Linked DNA regions of Homo sapiens: all the other regions are linked to region 1. Evidence: promoter capture Hi-C in human tissues and cell types (Jung and others, 2019). All regions are on one chromosome and are shown on one strand. Each heading gives the region's core, a stretch centred on a gene start or on the middle of the fragment in contact. The rest is flanking DNA. Distances are from core to core; before and after follow the strand shown. Region 1 holds the start of NF2 (NF2, moesin-ezrin-radixin like (MERLIN) tumor suppressor). Region 2 holds the start of SF3A1 (splicing factor 3a subunit 1). Region 3 holds the start of SEC14L3 (SEC14 like lipid binding 3). Region 4 holds the start of PES1 (pescadillo ribosomal biogenesis factor 1). Region 5 holds the start of OSM (oncostatin M).

What was found. The method cuts DNA at HindIII sites, captures the fragments that hold promoters and counts their contacts. A contact is called where the count stands out against the background at its distance.
Region 2: the fragment with the promoter of SF3A1 here is called in contact with the fragment with the promoter of NF2 in region 1 in 4 of the 25 tissues and cell types used here (IMR-90 fibroblasts, dorsolateral prefrontal cortex, lymphoblastoid cells and 1 more).
Region 3: the fragment with the promoter of SEC14L3 here is called in contact with the fragment with the promoter of NF2 in region 1 in 2 of the 25 tissues and cell types used here (bladder and lymphoblastoid cells).
Region 4: the fragment with the promoter of PES1 here is called in contact with the fragment with the promoter of NF2 in region 1 in 1 of the 25 tissues and cell types used here (lymphoblastoid cells).
Region 5: the fragment with the promoter of OSM here is called in contact with the fragment with the promoter of NF2 in region 1 in 1 of the 25 tissues and cell types used here (heart left ventricle).

The regions. Positions count from the first base shown.
Region 1 is chr22:29,602,284-29,604,983 of GRCh38, reverse strand. NF2 (NF2, moesin-ezrin-radixin like (MERLIN) tumor suppressor) reads right to left here and starts at 1,351. Exons shown (of 16, transcript NM_000268.4): 1 at 872-1,351. The coding sequence starts at 985. RefSeq lists a silencer at 1,006-1,585 and an enhancer at 1,836-1,965. The HindIII fragment of the contact is 17,440 bases long and covers 1-2,700 here.
Region 2 is chr22:30,355,562-30,358,261 of GRCh38, reverse strand. It overlaps SF3A1 (splicing factor 3a subunit 1), which reads left to right and starts at 1,368. Exons shown (of 16, transcript NM_005877.6): 1 at 1,368-1,532. The coding sequence starts at 1,470. CCDC157 (coiled-coil domain containing 157) reads right to left here and starts at 1,255. Exons shown (of 12, transcript NM_001017437.5): 1 at 1,130-1,255. RefSeq lists an enhancer at 1-486 and a silencer at 1,422-1,671. The HindIII fragment of the contact is 21,616 bases long and covers 1-2,700 here.
Region 3 is chr22:30,470,672-30,473,371 of GRCh38, reverse strand. SEC14L3 (SEC14 like lipid binding 3) reads left to right here and starts at 1,355. Exons shown (of 12, transcript NM_174975.5): 1 at 1,355-1,467. The coding sequence starts at 1,414. The HindIII fragment of the contact is 19,065 bases long and covers 1-2,700 here.
Region 4 is chr22:30,590,616-30,593,315 of GRCh38, reverse strand. PES1 (pescadillo ribosomal biogenesis factor 1) reads left to right here and starts at 1,406. Exons shown (of 15, transcript NM_014303.4): 1 at 1,406-1,506. The coding sequence starts at 1,483. RefSeq lists enhancers at 784-863, 1,084-1,383, 863-1,578. The HindIII fragment of the contact is 28,649 bases long and covers 1-2,700 here.
Region 5 is chr22:30,265,450-30,268,149 of GRCh38, reverse strand. It overlaps OSM (oncostatin M), which reads left to right and starts at 1,299. Exons shown (of 3, transcript NM_020530.6): 1 at 1,299-1,384. The coding sequence starts at 1,351. RefSeq lists enhancers at 1,896-1,995, 2,056-2,135. The HindIII fragment of the contact is 14,267 bases long and covers 1-2,700 here.

The DNA.
Region 1 (2,700 bases), core at 102-2,601:
AAAAAAGAATTTTCACCAGTTTTACAGAGGAATGGGTTCCTTAAGCTGTCATGCTGGAAGCTGATCTTATCTAAGGCTGCTTTTGTGTTACAATGGTAGAGTTGAAGAGTTGAATAACTCCAACAGAGATTCTCTAGTCTACAAAGTTGAAAATATTTACTATGTGGTCCTGTACAGAAAAAGCATGCCAACCCTTGCTTACTGCTGCCAATGCTGCTGGTCCACAAACCACACTTTTAGCAGCAAGAACTTAAATTACTTGAGAAGCAGTACTGTACGGGCTGTGAGCTTGGTTCAAAACCCCACCTTGCCATTTACTAGATAAATGGGTTTGTTCTGAGGATTAAATGTGCAAATGTCTAGCACTTTGAAAATACTGAACAATTGATAGCTGTTATCATCATGTTGGAAACTATGTGGAAAGTAAGTATGAGATGTTATATCGTTCTTCAAAGGGTTTTTTTTCCCAGAATATGCAAGCTTTAGAAAAGGGAAACAAGTATTGGCTTTCCAATAAACAAGACGCAACTTCTAATACCTGGGTACATAACAATATTACCTAATGAAAGAATAAACTTTCAAGCTTTTAAGCGTAAGCCTAACTTAAGCCTGACACTGAAATCCTGAATTTTCTATCACAGGAGCATCCAGCTTCTTCCAATAACAATGAATGAAAATAACCTTCAGGAAATGCCAAAACCCAAAAGTCCTATGAAAAAAAGCAGCAATCATCTTTAACATGAGGTTTTGGGCCTAGTTGGCCCTTCCGGTTCTGCCCGTCTCTAGCTACACCCATAAGATGATATAAAGAGAACCTCTCGAGCTTCCACCTCGACTGTCACCGCAGCAGTCGGGGCTGCCGGCCGGTTACCTCGCAATTGAACTCCATCTCGGCGTCCATGGTGACGATCCTCACGGTGAACGTCTTGGGTTGCTTCCTCTTGAGAGAGCTGAAGCTCATGCGGGAAGCGATGGCCCCGGCCATGGCGCGGGGCTCAGGCCCGGGACCCTCGCGCCCCACGGCCTGCACTCTGAGCCCTTTAGCCCCCCTGGAGTTGCTGCACAGGCCTCAGGGCCACCATGGTGGCCGGCTGCCCGGCCCGGGAACGGTCTGGGCTGCGCGGGTCCCCAGCGGCCAGCATGGGCCGCGAGGACCCTGCCTGAGCGGAAAGGGGAGTTGGGGGACGGGCCCTGACGGCTGCAGGGAGGGCACAGGAGCCGGGACCTTCGGTGCAGGCGCGACCCGGCACTCCGGGATTCGGGCCGGAGATGCCGGGGACGCCTCGGGACGGGACCCCTAGACGGCAGCGGCCCAGACTCCGCGCGCCTCTCAGCGGCCGACTAGGGTCACGGGGCCGCGCTGCATCGGGCGCGTACGCGCGCGCGTGGCTGTCACCGTCCTCACTCCGCGCGCCCGCGGGAAGCGCACCCTCCCCACAGCCCGGGGCCTGCTCCCGGCCCCGCCCTCAGGTCGCCCAGACCACTACGCGCAGCGCAACCGAACCGGAGGCTGACGCATAGATGCTGCGATTGGCTGGGAAGGCCAAGGTAGGCAGGACTTTCCCGCTCCGTCCCGCCTCCTTTGGGGTGACTCCACCAATGGAAAGTTTCACTCTAACTGCAAAAAAAGCAGGCCTAGGCTCGGCGTTGAGTGGCTACAGTGGCAGTCACTCTGAATGCTTTTGTGCCTACTCTAACAAGACTGGTTGAGGCGGCGGACCTCTGCTGACCTTACCCGGGAAACCACTTAGAGGCTGGATCCGGGGCGAGGGGAATTGGGTCCTTCGTTGGCCCAGGGAGGGACTCTTCGGTTCAAGTAGGCTCCGAGTGTGGCGCCCCAGGGGACTGCGTTTCGGACACACGGCGAATATTCTTCTTTGGCAGTTAATCACATATACCGACCCCTATGAAACTTTAAAGACACTTGTGGAGGCCTGTTAGGTTTGCTGGCACTTTCCCGCCAGATCCCTCTGCTTCCCTTTAGAATTATTATTATTATTGTTATTATTATTATTATTAATTATTATTATTATTGGGACGGAGTTTCGCTCTTGTTGCCCAGGCTGGAGTGCAGTGGCGCGATCTCGGCTCACTGCAACCTCCGCCTCCCGGGTTCAAGCGATTTTCCGGCGTCAGCCTCCCGAGTAGCTGGGATTACAGGTATGCGTCACCACGCCCGGCTAATTTTGTATTTTTATTAGAGACGGGGTTTCTCCATGTTCGTCAGGCTGGTCTCGAACCTCAGGTGATCCGCCCGCCTCGGCCTCCCGAAGTGCTAGGATTACAGGCGTGAGCCACCACGCCCCGCCTAGAATTATTATTGGTTATACCTACCTCGTGAGGTTGTTGAATTTCAGCGCACTGAATACATATAAGGCTTTAGAGCTGAGCCTGGCATCCTATGAAATTGCTGAATTTGGGTTGAAAATGAAAGCATTCTTTATTTTATACTCTATGATGCCCATTTTTGAACCGTATTCATGTATTATTTATTTAGTGTCATCAAGGGTTCTAACGGGTGTAGGGGGGATAATTACACCTTTCTGTACTTAGATAATAAATTCTATTTTAAAATAGCTCTTAGTAGTCAAATAGGGACAATTTACTGTGTTTTTTCGTTTGTTTTTTGTTTTGAGACAGAGTTTCGCTCTTGTTGCCCAGGCTGGAGTACAATGGGGCGGTCTCGGCTCTCTGCAACCT
Region 2 (2,700 bases), core at 119-2,618, 750 kb before region 1:
TATTCTACATTAATAACAACCATGACACACAGCTACGATGTGTGTGGGGGGAGGGGGAAGACTTGAGAGAGCAACCTTTCCTATCACTCCCTCATTTCACAGGTGAGGAAACTGAAGTCCAGGAACAGGTTCGGAGCCAGCTCCCCGCTTTCCAGAGTTGAGGAGAGGAGGAAGGAGAGAGGGGGGAATCGCAGGAGAGGGAGAGAAGCCGGCGGGATTCGAGGTAGGCCTCTGGGGAGCGAGCCGCATAGCTTGCAGGGCTGCATCTGTGAGAGTGAGGGGTGAAGCCTAAAGCAGCAGCCCTGCGTGATGGCTCATGCGTGTAATCCCAGCACTTTGGGAGGCCAAGGCGGGAGGATCGCTTGACCCCAGGAGTTTGAGACCAGCCTGGGCAACATAGGGAGACGTCCTCCCATGTCCCTACAAAAAAAAAAATTTAAAAACTGGCCGGGCGCGGTGGCTCACGCCTGTAACCCTAACACTTTGGGAAGCCGAGGCGGGCGGATCATTTGAGGTCAGGAGTTCCAGACCAGCCTGGCCAGCATGGTGAAACCCCGTCTCTACTAAAAATGCCAAAAAAAAAAAAAAAAAAATTAGCCGGGTGTGGTGGGCGCCTGTAGTCCCAGCCACTCGGGAGGCTGAGGCAGGAGAATCGCTTGAACTCGGGAGGCGGAGGTTGCAGAGAGTCAAGATCGCGCCACTGCACTCCAGCCTGGGTGACAGAGCAAGACCTTGTCTCAGAAAAAAAGAAAAAAGAAAGACAAAGAAAGCAGCAGCCTTGATTTGAGAGGGAGGCCCCCAGTGGGGCTTGAGGGCGGGACTACGGAAGGCAGGGGATGGAAGCAAGAAAAGGCAGGTTCCGTGGGAAAAGCGAATTAAGGGCGTAGGATTTGGAAGCGGGGCTTGGAGGATGTGGGTCTGAAATGAAAGGGGGGACTAAGGGAGTAGGGAAGTGGGGCTCTTAGGCGGTGAGCCTGAGGGGACAGGGGCTCTCCTAAATGAGAGACCAATGGGAGGGAGCTGGGCTCTTGGAAGGCGGGGTCGAAGGGAGCGAGGTACTGGCCTGTGGAGTAAAGGAGCCGCGAGGTGAGTGCGGCGGGGGTCCGGCGGGTGACGTACAACATCTCACCTGTCTTCGGCGTCGCGGCTTCAGCCTTCGTGTCTGGTCGGCTCCCGGAACTGCCCCCGGTGCGCCTGCGGCCACCGGGATCCCCGAAAAGCCCTAGCCGGGCGCTCAGGCCGCTGCCTTGGCAACGGCGTCGGACGCCGCGGTGCCCGCGGGGAGGGGCGGGAAGCGCGTCACGGCGAGGGGACGGTCCCGGAAGTGCGCCAGTCGTACCTTCGCGGCCGCAACTCGCTCGGCCGCCGCCATCTTGCGAGCTCGTCGTACTGACCGAGCGGGGAGGCTGTCTTGAGGCGGCACCGCTCACCGACACCGAGGCGGACTGGCAGCCCTGAGCGTCGCAGTCATGCCGGCCGGACCCGTGCAGGCGGTGCCCCCGCCGCCGCCCGTGCCCACGGAGCCCAAACAGGTACCTCTCCCCCGCCCCTCAGCCTGCAGCCGGAGGGTTGGCCTGGGCGCTCCTTACTCGCACAGGAATAAGCGGCCGGCCGCTATGAAGGGCTTGGAGGGACTGCAAGTCCCAAGAGGCTGCGCGCTTCCCGCGCTATGGTGGTGTTCTGGTAGCGAAATGAGCCACCCTGAACGGGATTCTCTAAGTGGTCCGCGGAGCAGCCCCGTCGGCACGAGCCGGGAGCTTCTTAGAAATGTGGAGTCTCCGCCGTAGATCTTTTAAATAGGAATCTACATTTGAACAAAATCCTAAGGTGATTGATTTATAAGTGCGAGAGGCGCTGATCCAGCCCATCCTCTGATCTTATGTAGCAGTTGGGGCCGCCGGCCACAGCCTTTCCCCAGTAATGGCTAATTTCCCAGCCTGCACGGTACATCTTTGGATGTTAATTCTCAGCATCTATTTCGGTGTCTGCCCCAAGCCAGACACCGTGCCAGGCTCCCACATTACCGGAATGAATGGGGCATGGTCCCTGCCTAGGGAGCTCACAGGCTAACGAGAAGACAGACATATGAGAATGCTCACCAAATGTTTGTTGTCCCAATGGCCATCGATGATACAGTGCCAGCCCGCCCTTAATAAAGCTCTCCAATCTCGAATGTGCACAAACCATTGTAGTATGGTGTGATATGCCCTGTGATAGAAGTTTCAGGTACAAATCTAATGAACATTGTTTGCTGGGCTAGAAGGGATATTAAGGTAGGGAAGCCCACAAGAGTGAGAGGTAAATTTCTTTTAGAAGAAGGAATAGGAGTTTGCCAGGTAGGTGACTAGGGAAGGGAAATAGCATCCTTTATTCATCCAGCAAATATTTATTGAACACATACGCTGATCATTGCTTTGGGTTCAGAATAAGGGGGGCGGGGGGGGGGAACATGACTGAAGAAGCCATGCCTTTTCCACAAATATTTAAGTGCCCGTGTGTCCCTGGCATTTTCCCAGGCATTGGGGGAAAATAAGGTAATAGCCAGATAATATGCGCAAAGACACCGAGGTGAATCAAACGGTGTCTCTGATCAAGAGTAAATGAACAAGTGTTGAAGCATAGACTTAGGAGCGTAGTGGCAGGAGATGCGATTCTTACTTAGGATTTGAACTTTTCCTTGTAGACAGTGGGAAGAAAAGG
Region 3 (2,700 bases), core at 106-2,605, 870 kb before region 1:
GCCCCTAGAAGTAACTAGCACACCTCACATTATAGGGATTAGGGTGAGAAAGGAGACTGGTGAGAAATGGGCAGGATTAGTGGCTCGGGAAAGGGCAGTGGAGGAACCCAATCTCTGTACATTACTGGCCTGGCAGGAAGTGGGTGTAGACAGCAGCTGGGGCTTTGCAGAAATTGAGGCTGGAATGTGAAATGGGGCAGGGCTGGGGTGTGGAGAGTTACCTAACTGTTCCTGAGTACATGCCACGGGCTCCCCAGGCAGAGGGAAATGGCCAGCATTAGCCCTGCCTTCTCCTTCTGGATCCAACTCTGTGAGGAGCCCAGAGCAAGGAAGATGTCCCTGAGAAGATGTCTGATACTGACCAACATCTACTAGCCTAAAGAGACCCTGGGTTAGCCCAGAATAGAGGCCCACTGTAGCTCAGGGGTGGGTACCCAGGATGCCCCAGGAGTAGGGGACCTAGAAAAGCCCTAGGCAGAATGGTGTGGGCTAGCCCAGCTGCTGGGGCCGAGGCTAGCCCGGGGTTGGTTTCAGCCCATGCAGACCCCCTCAAGGCTGAGATGTGGCCATGTGGCCATGTGGCCATGCTGCAGCCTCAAGCTGATGGTTTCTTCAGAGAGAGTCATGGATAACAGGGTCTCTCCCTTCCTGGAGCTGAAGCTTACAGCTCCAGGGGGGACCAGGAGAGCTGAAGGAGAGTATCCCTCAGATGCACACAACCCTTGACAGTCCCTATGTCTCATTAGATCTTCCCTCTAACCACATAAGGAGGGGAAGGCAAACATTAACGGCCCCATTTTATAAATGAAGCAAGTGACGTTCAAAAGATGCCATCTGTCCTCTTCTTGACTGTGGACACAAAAGAAGGACCTGGGCCTCCCACCCCCAACAAAGTGAATGAACTGTTTACTACACTGACCAAGCCTCAGAATCCTACCCTTTCAGAGCTGGGTAGAGGGGGGTGATCTTTGCAGAATCCTAAGTGTGGGAAGACTGGGGCTCAGGGAGAAAGGGTACCCACAAGGAGCGGTCCTCATTCTCCTGAAACTCCCCCTTCTCCAGGGCAGTGGTCACTGGAGGCCTGGGAGGGTCAGCGGGTTCTACAGGCACTCACTCTGGGCTCCAAGGTCACGGGAGGCCAGCCTCCCTTCCTCCCAGCTGCCTCCTCCTGGCAGGGGACCTCTGGCACACGCTCCATGCCCGCCTGCCCCTCCAGATCTGTCCCCAAGCCAAGCAGGGGACCTCACTTAATCCCAATTATGTAATCTGCAATTTAAACAGTTGGCCCATGAGGAGGCGCTTGGAGCCACGCCCAGGAGTGGGGGCAAAAGGACCCAGCTGGGTCAGGGCTGACAAACTAGGCTTGGCCTCTTGCCTATAGTGGCCACCACTCCTCAAGCCCCAGCCAGCACCATGAGCGGCCGAGTTGGAGACCTGAGCCCCAAACAGGCAGAGACCCTGGCCAAGGTGAGAGCCCCTCCCCCTGGAGTTCCGGAAGACCAGGGGAAAGGGGCTGGGGGGTGGAAAGAAGTGGCTGGAATCCTGCCCCACTCAGTTGATTCAGCATGTCCTTGACATTGTCTCTTTGGTGTTACCTCCCAAAGGGTCAAGCCCCACGGTGCCCAGTAACATCAACCCTGTCCCGGGCGGGGGTTGAGGGACTAGCACCACTTCCAGGCAATAACGTGGGTGGTGCCCACCCAAGTCAAGCCTGACTTCTTCTCATCCAGGAGCCAGAACCAGAGAGGTTTACCTGGCAGCCAGGTACCCCCGTTCCTCCCTCCCAGGCACCATAGGTAGGAGCTGAAAGATGCTGCTGGTCTGCCCTTTAACCCCTTCCTCTTTGGGATCCTGAAAGATGACCAGTCTGTAAAAGCCCAAGAGACAGAGCAGAAAGTGTTGTCTTTCAAAGAGCTAAAGGAAGAAGAGGACATATAATTATTAACCATGTTTTAATAGAAGATGGGATGAAAAAAAGCAGATGTTTTGAGGGCTAACACATGGAGGGAACTAAGAATGCATCCAAACTCCAATCCACTTATTCATCCACCCAATTATTTATCCTTTCTTCTTCTTTTTCTTCTTTTTTTTGAGATGGAGTCTCTGTCATCCAGGCTGGAGTGCTGTGGAGCGATCTCAGCTCACTGCAGCCTCTGTCTCCCAGGTTCAAGCAATTCTCCTGCCTCAGCCTCCTGAGTAGCTGGGATTACAGGCATGTGCCACCACACCTGGCTAATTTTTGTATTTTTAGTAGAGATGAGTTTTCACCATGTTGGCCAGGCTGGTCTCAAACTCCTGACCTCAGGTGATCCACCAACCTCAGCCTCCTAAAGTGCTGGGATGACAGGCGTGAGCCACCATACCTGGCTGTTTATCCTTTCTTTCATCCACCCATCCCTCTTCCTACCCACGCAGCCACCTATCCATCTTTCTTTCTCTCAATCACCCACCCATCTCTCCTCTGTCCATTCACTGATTTATCCACCCACCCACTCTCCATCCATCCATCTATCCATTCATCCATTGATTTCTTCTCCCTTTTTCCATCTACCTACCCACTCACCCATCTATTCTTCTTTCTAACCATTTATTCATCCATCTATCCTCCTTCCATTCATCCACCTATCCAGTGATCCATCTGCCCTTCTATTCAACCATTAACCCATCCTTTCATCAATGTGGGCCATTTTGCATGTGGGA
Region 4 (2,700 bases), core at 157-2,656, 990 kb before region 1:
GGGTTTTCGCCATGTTGGCCAGGCTGGTCTCAAACTCCTGATCTCAGGTGATCCGCCTGCCTCAGCCTCTCAAAGTGCTGGGATTACAGGTGTGAGCGACCGTGCCCGGCTTCATCTCATTTTTAACTGTGGAATTGCTGGGTTTTAAATTTTAGCTTTAAATTAGATAGTGCAAGTCACATAGTTCAAAACAAGTATTCACCAGTGCTTAACGTCTGTCTCTGTGTAAGTTCTAAGACCAAGTCCTTGGGCCAGGTCACATTCACAAGAGCCTCAAATTTAAACTTTTGAGATCATCTTCGAACGAAATTTGGAATTTGGAAAAAGGGAGAAACGTTTAAAAAAAAAAAAACCTCTTAAAATTGCATCTACTTCCAGACTGCACCATCTCAAGGTGATGTGACTATTTGTATAAATCTTGGAATTATTATTTGAGGAACACTTACAGAATTTATGTGTACAAATTAAAAGCTCGAATATGTTGAATGTACATTTAATTTTATTTATTTATTTATTTTTGAGATGGAGTCTCACTCTGTCGCCCAGGCTGGAGTGCAGTGGCAAGATCTCGGCTCACTGCAACCTCTGCCTCCCAGGTTCAAGCGATTCTCCTGCGTCAGCCTCCCGAGTAGCTGGGATTACAGGCGTGTGCCACCATGGCCAGCTAATTTTTGTATTTTTAGCAGAGACGGGGTTTCACTATATTGGTCACACTGGTCTCGAACTCCTGACCTCAGATGATCCGCCTGTCTTGGCCTCCCAAAGTGCTGGGATTACAGGCGTGCGCCACCGCTCCCAGCCTTGAATGTACATTTTAAATATACCACGAGTCCACCACTAAGGCTCAGAAAATATAAGTGGCCTCTAGGATCTCTATACCTCCGCGAGGAAAAATGTCTTCCTTTTTTCTATTTTAGCCGCATAACCGCGAATGAACCAAAGAGAACCCGAAGCCGGTGGGAACTCAGCGCAGTCTCACCCTGCCCCTCGGGAACCGCTTCTCAGCAGCGGCAGCCGAAGTCTGACGACGCTTAGCAACCGTTACCTTGACAACGCAATCCTATCGCGCACCATGGAGTGCGGCGCCCCTCTGCATCCCAGAAGGCACCGCGCTGTCCCTAAGCCTTCCGCCCCTCTCCGTCCCAACATGCAACGAGGCTCACAGTCAATGAATCGTCATCAGGGTGATTACAGAAAAGCCTGTATATCCACGTTTGTTTTAACACTTAAAGTGTTTGTAACCATTGTGAGCGGGAAAGATCTGGAAAGAGTGTTCTCAGTGATTTTTTTCAGACTATAGTTTTAAATCTTGAGGAGGAAATCCCCATCTTTCCCTGGACTTGTACAGGCATCTCATTGGGCAGCCCGCACAAACAGACAGCGTGGGGTGGGGAGGGTCCTCGGGGTCCTTGGCAGGGCACGTGCGGGAGGAAGTGGAGCTCCCTGTACGCGCGGCCCTAGTCGGCTCCTCAACGTGGAGCGATGGGAGGCCTTGAGAAGAAGAAGGTGATTGGGAAAGACGGTGGGGATTCCCGAGGGGTGGGGTGCGGGGGCGGCAGAGCATGGGGTCGACTCTTTTCCCGGGCTCCGTCTCGTGGAGACTGGAAAGACGGGATCGACGTGACCGTAATCAGCTGCGAGAAGGGGTCCGAGAATGGACAAGGATGGCAGTATTCGTTTAGTGAAATCCGAGAACGAACTCCAGAGTTCTTTCTGTGGAGAGGGCTGTGAAAGAGAGTTGAACTTACCAAGCGTAGCTTCATTCCAAAAGCAGGCCGAGCCGTGGGACCACTATTTACCGAAAGGGTGATAAACATTACGTAGAGCTCACCGTTACTGCACCGTTACATTAGTTGGTTAGTGTTGTCTTGGAAGTTCTCTTCGAGGCATAACATTTCGGCTGAAATGGGAAAGATCAGAACGTCTTGGATGGGTTCTGGGGCATGGGAGTGCTTAGCGAGCAGGCCTGACAAGGGAAACCAAGTGCCAAGATCAGTAGGCAGGGAAGGCTTGCTGTGTGTAAGGAGTTGGAAGGACATTAGGATGACTCGCATGTAAACCAAGAAAAGAATGGCATCTGATAAGATTGGGGTTGGACACGTACTGTATCGTGCAAGGCCTGTAAGCTTGGATTTTATTCTAAGTGCAGTAGGAATAGTGTAGAGCTTGGATTTTATTCTACGTGCAGTAGGAAAAAAAGGAGGAGTAACACGATTAGAGTTTTTCAGGGAGTTCTTGTGGCTGTATGGAGAATCGGCCCAGTGACATGAAAAGACTGGGAAGGGAATGGGAATGAGGAATATATAGTTGGCTTAAGTGTTTCTTTCAGAGTGAAAGTTTCTATTGCCAGTGTTCTTAACCCAACACACTACATTGAGTATCCAGTGCTAGCCATCGGAACTGCAAAGATACAAGATGGAAAACCTGCCCTTGAGTTGCAGATGTAGATATGTAACAAAATCGTTACAGTTTTTAAAAGCTGGGTTTCAGAGCCAGAATCAACAAAGATGAGTCTTTGTTGTGGGAAGGATTGTCTTGTGTGTAGTAGGATATTTGGCAACATCCCTGATCCTTTACCTACTGGATACCAGTAGCACCCAGCAACCAAAAATGTCTCCAAACATTGCTGAACTCTCCTCCCCCCAGCACATACCCAGGGAGTACCCCATTGAGAACTATTTATTCCCTTAACATTTATAA
Region 5 (2,700 bases), core at 50-2,549, 660 kb before region 1:
GGAGCAGCTCAGGCCTCCCTGGCAGCCTCCAGGAGTCCCACCCTGACTCCCCAGACTCCTGAGGGCCTCCTCCCACCCGGGCTTCTTAGGGTGCAGGCCAAGGACCCTCCTCTGGGCCTGGGAGATGTGCTGACCAGGCAGGGTCTATAGGCCTGGGCCAGCCTCTTGGCCTCCCTGTCTGCCTTCACCCAGGCCTCAGTTTACCCCACAGTAAAGTAGCAGTTTGACTAGGGAGGCGCTGTTCCCAGGGCCCTTTCGCAGAGGACCAACCTAAGATCGCTATCTTTCAGAGAAAGTGAAACCTGGTCCCCAACTGTCAAGGCGGCAACTCCCCCTCCCCGGCTTCCCCTCTGAGCTCACAGCTTCCCCATCTCCTCCTTCCCCCATCCCGCCCCCTCGACAGCTAATACTTGGAATCAGACCTTCATCTTTGCTTTTTCCTTCAGAGGTCTTTTCCTTTTATGTCCATGCTGGCAGCAACCCTGTGAGGTGGGCTGGGAAAGGCTTTTCTCCTCCTCATTTTATAGTTGTGGGTCTCTGAGGCCCAGAGAGGTTAAGTGACTTGCCTCAGGTCACACAGCACCTCAGCAGGCTTGAACCCTGGCCTCCTGTTTCTCTTGCTCCAAGTGTCCAGTTCTCCCCAGTGGAGCCTGCCTACAAAGACAAGGCCTGGCTTTGGGGAGTGGGCCTGGCAGAGGGTGCACGATGGGGGAAAGGAGACCGTCGGGAGCCGGGCTGGGGGATGCTGGTCCTGGGGCCTGAACCACAATCTCGGGGCTGCCAGCCTGCGTCTGGCTCTGTGCCCAGAGCCCGGTGGTTTCCGCTCACAGATGTCCCAACAGCCCCGGCGAGAGGGCAGGAAGGGCACTCAAGAAGGAAGATGTCTCGCTCCCCTCAGCCCCCAACCACCGTGTCCTGTGAGGCCAATGGCTCCTGGGCCAAGACTGGCCTGGGGCCTCCAGAGGCCCAGCTCGAAGTCCCTCCTGCCCATCCCTGGCCCAGTTCCCTGAAGATGGCATGGACCCTTTTCCTCCCCACTCACCCTAGGAAGGCTGAGGCTGCGGTTTTACATCATCCTTGGGCGTAGGGCTGACCTCGAAGAACGAATTCGAAGAAAACAGGAGGAGGAGCGGGCATACACCGCGCCCTGCGCCCATTGGCCGCCCGTGGAAATTTTGGTTTTTGGGGTCATGTTCCCAGAAGGCCTGCCCTCCCCCCTCCCCATCCCCACCCACCTCATGAGGTGTTGGCCAATCGCCCCAGCGGGCATAAAGTGGCTGCCAGCCTGCAGGGCTCCCAGCCGAGAGGTGTCACCCCCAGCGGGCGCGGGCCGGAGCACGGGCACCCAGCATGGGGGTACTGCTCACACAGAGGACGCTGCTCAGTAAGTACTTCCTTCCTCCCCGCCAGAACCCGCCTGCTGGGTCTGCCCACGGGTGCCGGTGGGGAGCAGAGGCACCCTCTGCCCTCCGGGAACTGGGGAGGCCAGGCGCCAGGCAGAAGGATGCTGAGAAGGGGAGAGAGCCAGGAGGTCAGGCAGAGAGAGTGGTCCACTGAGAACCTGGCATCTCCACAGGTAGAGAAGGGGCATCCCTGGAAGGCTTCCAGGGGGAGGTGATGTCAAGATGTAGAGGCAACTCTGGGAACCAGGGGGTGAGAGAATAGGATGGGCAAAGAGGCTGGGCAGGAGAGGGAGGCTCAGAAGCTGGGCAGGGAAGTGGTGTGAGGTGTGGAGGGGTTGTGGGGCCTCCAGCTTGCCCGGGATGAATAGAAAGTCAGCCAGGCCTGGGGGCCCCAGGGCCCACACAATCACACAGCATGCACAGCCACACCCACATGGCCACATGCGCACACAGCCATATGACGTCATCTACAGCCCTGGATCTCACCAGCCCAGGAACCCCCACATGCAGACCAGAGTCCCCATGGTGAACGGAACAGGTCTCCCTCACGCCGCACACAGACCCAGATGCACAGCCACACAGAAACCCCAGTCCCACGTGCGCTGCCACAGGCACAGGCCCCTGCCAGAGCCCGGCAGCAGATACCTGGGGAGGCGGCGAGGGTGCCGTGGGGTCGCTAAGCCTGGGTGCCTGGCCCCTTGGCCCTCCCCAACAGCCAGTCTTCCCCAAAGGGCCGGATGGTTCTTAGGACGGGAACGATGGTGTCACTGCCTTCCGGGCCATTGCGCCATAGGCCCCTTCCGACCACGTGGCTGCCGGTGCCCCGTTGGGGGTGGTGGTGAGCGGTAACTGTACCCGCCCCCAACACCTTCTGACAGGCTCACAGCATCCCTGGTGGGCCTGACAGAAGGAGCCACTTATGGAGAGAGGAGGGAGGCAAGAGAGGTCAGGGGAGAGCCCTGGCCTTGTGTGACCTGAGTAGGACCTTCTCCTGAGACTTGGTTTACCTGTCAGGAAAGTGGGGACATGGACTGGAAGGTCTTCCACATCTGTTCCAGGCTGCACCTCTGGTTGAAAAGGCAGCCTCTCCTGGTTCTAGACAGAGCTGAGGACACAAGCTGCTCCCGGGCTGCCTGCCCTGAAGCCCTCTCAGGCCCATCTACCTGGATGGCCAGAGCAGCTGACAAGGCAGGTCCTAGGGCAGTGGCCGGTCTTTAGCCCAGTGGTCTTGCAGGGAGCCAGTCCCACCTTGCAGAGAGTCAGCTCCCGAGGTTAGAACCGTGCTGTAGGCAGGACT